2 separate regions of the Homo sapiens genome follow, and region 2 is linked to region 1. Evidence: promoter capture Hi-C in 16 types of primary human blood cells and fetal thymus (Javierre and others, 2016). All regions are on one chromosome and are shown on one strand. Each heading gives the region's core, a stretch centred on a gene start or on the middle of the fragment in contact. The rest is flanking DNA. Distances are from core to core; before and after follow the strand shown.

Evidence for each region. Contacts are between HindIII fragments. The CHiCAGO score rates a contact against its expected background, and 5 or more counts as called.
Region 2: a contact is called between a fragment that was not itself captured here and the fragment with the promoter of LINGO1 in region 1, in 1 of 17 cell types (endothelial precursors). The highest score is 5.0, in endothelial precursors.

Annotation. Positions count from the first base shown.
Region 1 is chr15:77,631,449-77,634,509 of GRCh38, reverse strand. It overlaps LINGO1 (leucine rich repeat and Ig domain containing 1), which reads left to right and starts at 1,598. Exons shown (of 2, transcript NM_032808.7): 1 at 1,598-2,200. The coding sequence starts at 2,195. RefSeq lists enhancers at 645-774, 216-779. The HindIII fragment of the contact is 14,548 bases long and covers 1-3,061 here.
Region 2 is chr15:76,987,669-76,990,729 of GRCh38, reverse strand. No RefSeq gene overlaps it. Among named protein-coding and RNA genes, the nearest start is that of PSTPIP1, 5.9 kb to the left of the region's middle. RefSeq lists an enhancer at 2,199-2,358. The HindIII fragment of the contact is 2,577 bases long and covers 285-2,861 here.

The sequences.
Region 1 (3,061 bases), core at 349-2,848:
TCCCTCTGTCACAGGGGAACAATAGTGCCTCCCCCAGAGTTGCTGGAGGGTGAACGTACAGTTCACAGTAGAGCATAGCATGGACGCCTGCTAGGAGGGACTCTAGCTAGGCCTAGGTTGAGGATGGGCATAGACATAGGAGACAGGAGAAAGTGCTCCAGACAGGACTGTCCAGAGCAACGGTGTGCCAGAGAGACTGAGAAGTACCCAGAAATGGTGCAGCTGGAACAGAAGGTCTGTGCAAGCCTTTGGGCTGTGTGTGAGGCTGAACAGCGAGAAACAAGGTGCTGTTGGGGGTGGGGAGAGGTCCCTCCGTGGCAACCAGGCATCTCTGCAATGATGTTGCGCAGGCTTCCTGGGAGAGGGGGTGTCACTGGAACTGGGATTCCAGCGTCTGCCCCAGAATCCGAGAGGCTTTGGGCTAGATCCCCTCCCCCAGCCTCAGCTGCCCCTGTGGACTCAAGCTATTAGGAGTATTCATGTGCTAATGGGTTGTTCCCAGCAGGGGAGGAGGGATGGCCGTGCCGGGCGGTGTCAGCATTGATGGTTATTCTAATAAAACTGGCTTGGTGGTAAAGGGCGTCTGGCTTCAAGGAGATGGAGGGGGTAGTATAGGGAAAAAGGTGAGGTCCTGAGGGTGGTAACCTACTCTGCAGGCTTTGCCAAGACATCCCTGCTGGCCTAGTTTCTGTATCTGAGGATCAAGGAGGATCTGGATCTCCGAGGAGAGGTCCCATTCCTTGGGCCCGTCTGAAGTTGTGGCCCCAGCCGAGGATCCCCGGGACCATTCCGGGAGGAGGGAACAGTCAAGCCCAGGCGGAGGCTCTGCGCTGCCCTCTGCTGGCCACTGGGTGCAGGGCCTCCGGACGGAGCGGGCCAGAGAGGCCTGCCGCCCTCTGCTGGACAGGAAGCCAGGCTGGGCGGGGACCCCGGCTCCTGGGTAGAGCTGCCGGGCCAGCGCGGCTTCCTCGCCGTCCCCTGGAGCTTCCCATTCTGCCTGCCTCGCCCTCCCGCGCTAGAATGTGGGCCCTCTAGCCTCGCGGACTTTCGAGAGGAGGGGACAGGGCCAGGACGGGGGCTCCCGGTCGGCCTCCCCATGCCGCCCTCCAAACAACCCTGTTCGTGTAGGGAGCCCTGTCCGTCCTCGTGCGTGTGTTCGTCCACAGCCCAGTTAACACGTGTAAACACACTCGCGCGCTCACATGCACACGCATGTGGCAACACAAAAATCACACACAACGGTGTGCGCGCATACACCCAGGGAGGACCGCACGCCGGACTCCCCGACACCCGGCTGGCCCGGGACTCGCCCAGAGCCCCGGACCCGGAGGGGCGCGGCCGTGTGCAGAGCTGGAGCGCCTGGCTGGTGCGCCCCTCGCCTGCGCACCCCTGCCTGTTTCGCTGCCCTAAGCGTGCAGGGCAGCGGCTGGGGCGCCCCTCGCTCTCCGCCCCCTCCGCTGAAAGGAGACGAACCACCCCCCACCCCACCACCACCATCACCAGGTTTTGCGGCCGCGCCTTCTCCTCCCCCGCCCGGCTCCCGCGGCTCACTCGCTCCCTCCTCCCTCGATCCCTCCTCCCTCCCTGGCTCGCTCCTAGTGCTCCCTCCCCGCGCCGCTGCAGAGCGCGGAGCCCGAGCGGGAGCCGGCGCGGGAGCCGGAGCGGGCGGCGGGCGACAGCGCAGGCGGCGGCGGCGGCGGTGGGTCCTGGTCCCGGCCCCGGAGGGCGCGGAGTCCCCACCCGCGCCGCTCCGGCCCCTCTCCCGACGCGGGGCGCCGAGCAGCATGCGCGGCCGCTGCCCGCCGGCCCCGGCCCCGCGGCGGAGCGCGCCCGGCCTCGACCCCGGCCCCAGCGGCAGAGGCGGCGGCGGCGGCTCCGGGCCGGCCCAGGGGGCAGAAGCAGGCTCGCGCAGCCCCTGTCCCGCGGCCTGAGCGCGCCCGCCCATCCGCCCGCCGGGGCCGCGGCCTCCCGCCTCCCCACTCCCGAGCCCCGGCCCCGGCTCCGGCTCGGCTCCCGCCCGCGCGGGGCGGACAGACGGACAGCCAGCCCCGCGAGGGCGCGCGGACTGCCGGGCGGAGGTGTCGGAGGAGGAGGAAACGGAGGAGGGGGCTGGGCAGGGGCTGGGGCCTGGTCGGGCCGGCTGGAGAGACATGCGATTGGTGACCGAGCCGAGCGGACCGAAGGCGCGCCCGAGATGCAGGTGAGCCAGGCGGCCGCGGCCGAGCCCCGAGCGGGCAGCCCCGCGGCGAGTGCCCCTGGGGGCCGCCATCGGCCCTGGCTGCGCCCTCCTGGGGTTGCAGGGCACCTCGGTGCCACCCAGACCTCCTTTGGGGTCATAGGCCTGATTTCCCCTCAAGCCTCAGAAATGAAAATTCTTCCTTTTCCACCTCCCCTCTCTCCAACCCCAACAAATTCCGGGTTTGTAAGCTGGGAGCCTGGAGCTGGGGAGGGGCCCCCACGGGTGTCCCAGACCTGCTCTGGTCTCCCCTTCCTGTCCCCCCTCCCATTCTGAGTATTGGTCACTCTAGAGGGTAAGCCCCCTGCTCAGCCCTGGGTGGGTACCTCCCTTCGTGGACCCCAGGTACCCCCAGGCAGCCCCCACCAGCACCAGACACTCCCTAGCTGGTGGACACAGGTCAGGGGCTGGGTTTCTCCACAAGCTCCAGCCTGGATGGCAGCTCCCCACCACACACAAGCATCGCCCCTTTCCAGCTCCTGCCCAGTGAAAAGGAGATGGGGAGTAGGGAGAGTGGAAGGAAGGGAGTTGGGGACCGGGAGCGCCCAGGAACGCTTTAGGGGCCTCCCCTTTGTCTGCGTTCAGCCCGGGCTTCTCACCTCCTCTTGCCCCACTTTTCATTCTAAGGCAGAGCGGGTGGGAGGTGGGAACCAGCTGAGAAGAGGGAGGTAAGGAGGGAGCCTCCTGCTCCCCCTCACACCCTTTTCGGGGTGGGCTGTGGGCTCTCTGCTCTCAAGGCATGCCAGGAGATGTGACCCTCCGGGCGGATCCCACTTTGAGAAGGAGGGGTGGGGCCAGGCCAGTGGGCAGCCCCTCCCGGTTCCT
Region 2 (3,061 bases), core at 324-2,823, 640 kb after region 1:
CTACACAGCAGAGTGACATTTTCAGATCCACATTTGGTCATATCAACGTCCCACTGTCACCTTGCCATGATTTTCCATTACTCTCAGGACAATGGCCATTGCCCTTACATGGCCTACAGACCCTGCATAATTTGGTCCCAGCCTACTCTTCAAAACTTCAACTCCCATTATGCCTCTCTCAATTTCTGATACTGCTTCCTGGACCATCTTTCAATTCCTCCATTCTGCCTCATTCTCTTCTTTCCCGGGTCCTTCACACATGATCACCCCTCTGCCTGGAAGCTTCTTCCCGTTCCATCCTAGACCCTGCCTTGGCCCAGCTAACTACTCCTTATCCCTTGGCCCTCTTATCAAATGTCACCTCTTCAGGAAAGCCTTTCCTGACCAATAAATGGATGGACAAATGGACAAAATGCAGGCAAGATGGAAAGCAAATAAACATCTTTTTTCTTTTTTCCTTTTTTTTTTTTTTTTTTTTTGGGACAGTGTCTCGCTCTGTCGCCCAGGCTGGAGTGCAGTGACACAGTCTTGGCTCACTGCAGACTCTGCCTCCCAGGTTCAAGCAGTTCTCCCAGCCTCAGCCTCCCAAGTAGCTGGGATTACAGGCATGCACCATCATGCTTGGCTAATTTTTATATTTTTAGTAGAGACAGGGTTTCACAGTGTTGGCCAGGCTGGTCTCAAACTCCTGACCTCAGGTGATCTGCCTGCCTTGGCCTCCCAAACTGCTGGGATTATAGGTGTGAGCCACTGCACCTGGCCGAATAAACACCATTTTGAAGGAAGTTCAGCCAAGTTCTCAGGGGCTGGAAGAGAAGACGTTGTTGGGGGAATAGCTCTCAGAGGTGAGGCTGACACCAAGCTGGAGGGCGGGACTGCACTCTGAGGGTCCTAAGATTCTAATTTGTTATCCAGGAAGAATCTAAAGCGAGAGCTTCCAGCCTTCTGAAGAGGGGCAGGGGCTGGAAAGAAGAGGGAGAGAAGGAGGGTCTGAAAGCTCTTTGGTGACATTCGAAGAGCCAGGAGGCCCTTGCCATGAATTTCATTTGGAGATGGCATTGCCACTGGTCCAAGGGGTAGGGCAAGTGACGCACGCTTCTCCCTTCTGCAGGGGAGCATCTGTCCTGCAGGAGTAATTCTCAACCTGCCATCAGCTTATGGCCAGAAGGGCATTCATGAGTCGGCCATTTAGACCTCGGTGGATGCACTGTCATGACGCTGCCCATGGCTGTAGGGTTGTGCACCCATCCCATGGCTGAAGTGGGATGTTCCAGCACCTGGCCATGATGGTTCACTATTGCTGGGGGAAATACCTGTAGGGTCCCTCCAGGTGGCCAGAGGCACATGCCTACTGTACTGGGGCAACCACTGTCCACCCCACTTACCCTGTCCCAGATTGGAACAAGCTCCACTGCAGCACACCCACCAGCACTGACTGAGCCTTCCTGTCTGGGAACATGCAAATGAACAAGCTCAGCCCCTGCCAGTCTGGTGAGGGAGGCAGCCTAGGAAGGGAAAATGTGCTGTGCGCAGACAACAGAGAAAGGCTGTTGAGGAGCCTGGCCTGGGAAGTCCTCCCAAAGGAGGGGAGCTGGGTCTTGATTAATGGGAAAGAGCTCACCCGTGAGGCAGGAAGGGAGTTCCAGAATAACGCTAATAGTCTACTAGGGCTGTGCTGCATCAGGCTCTGCTGTAAGCACTTCCCATGCCTTATGTATCACTTAATCTTCCCAACAACAGTGTGAGGCATTACGGCCACATTCAACAGATAAGGAACCTGAGGCTTAGACAGGTCAGTTAACTTTTCGGAGTCCCATCGCTAAAAAGGGTCTTTCCTCCCCAGAGTGTGGGGCTGGCAGTGAGGGGCCAGGGCCTGGGGCAGAAACAGGATGAGGAAGAAGGGAAAAGCAAGTCCCCACTGAGGAGGAAGTGCAGAGCCCATGCGGGGTGGGGGTGTGGCGCTCAGATGGAGGCTCCTCTCCTCTGACTCCAGGAAATATCCTTGCCCCAGAGTCCTCCACTGGGGCTGAGGGTGTGGCCTTTGGCCTTCAGGATGTGATACAGTTTGTTTTTCAGTTTGCCCCCAGGGACAGCAGTTGCAAAAACTAAGGCCTCTTCCCACTCACACAGCTCGCCTGAGTTGACGAGGAGCTTTCAGGTTTACTAATTTGCAGCCACAAGAGTGTGACTCTGAGTTTCCAAGCATTATCAGTCGTCAGAAGCCGAGTGCCGGTCAGGATTCTTGAAAGACAGCAAAGAGGTGCAAAGTGGCCCTTCGGGAGGTGGCCCAGGAACTGGTGGGCATGGGGAAGGGGCCTCAGTGAGTCCCAGGAATCCACTGCCACCCGATCACTGGTCAGAGGACGGAGGACTGCAGTGATGGAAGAGCCTGCAGGGACTATCTGGAGGTGCTCAAACAGCACAAAGTGTGCCTACCAGAAGTGGGACTTTGTTAAAAAAAAAAAAAAAAAAAAAAGCAAAAGGCCAAGTCCCAACCTTGGCCTACTGACTGGGTGGGGCCAGGGAGTATAGATTTTAGGTTTCGTAAGTGAGTCAGTCATACACCTTGGAGGAGAACTCCTGCTATTGCCTTACTTTCTCATTTTACAAATGGGAAACTGAGGCCCAATAAGTGGGGTAGCAGGGCCCAGAGGGGGACCAGTAGAATGATCTCACTGACAGGGAAGGAAAGGCATAACCATCTCCCACCCCCCAACCCCTTTTCTAGCCTGTTTTGTTTTGTTTCCATTATGGCAGCTGTCTCTCAAAACAGCTTCAAAAATGTGTTTCTAGCATCCTCTCCCCCCTTGGGTTGGTTTTAATTCAGGTGGAAAATGACTTGTTCACAGTAAAGCAAAGCTTGATTTCAGCCCAGCTGGTGTTTAATTTTCCCTGAAAACCTAGGATTCAGAGGCAGGAGACCCCAACTTCAGTCTTGGCTGGGCCGGAAAATCAATAGGCAGAGACATGTGGTGGGCCCGTGTGCAGGCAAAGGGAGCAGCATGTGCTGAGGCTCGGAGTAGGGAAGCCCCAGCCTGTGCAAGGAGTGGAACTTGGGGTG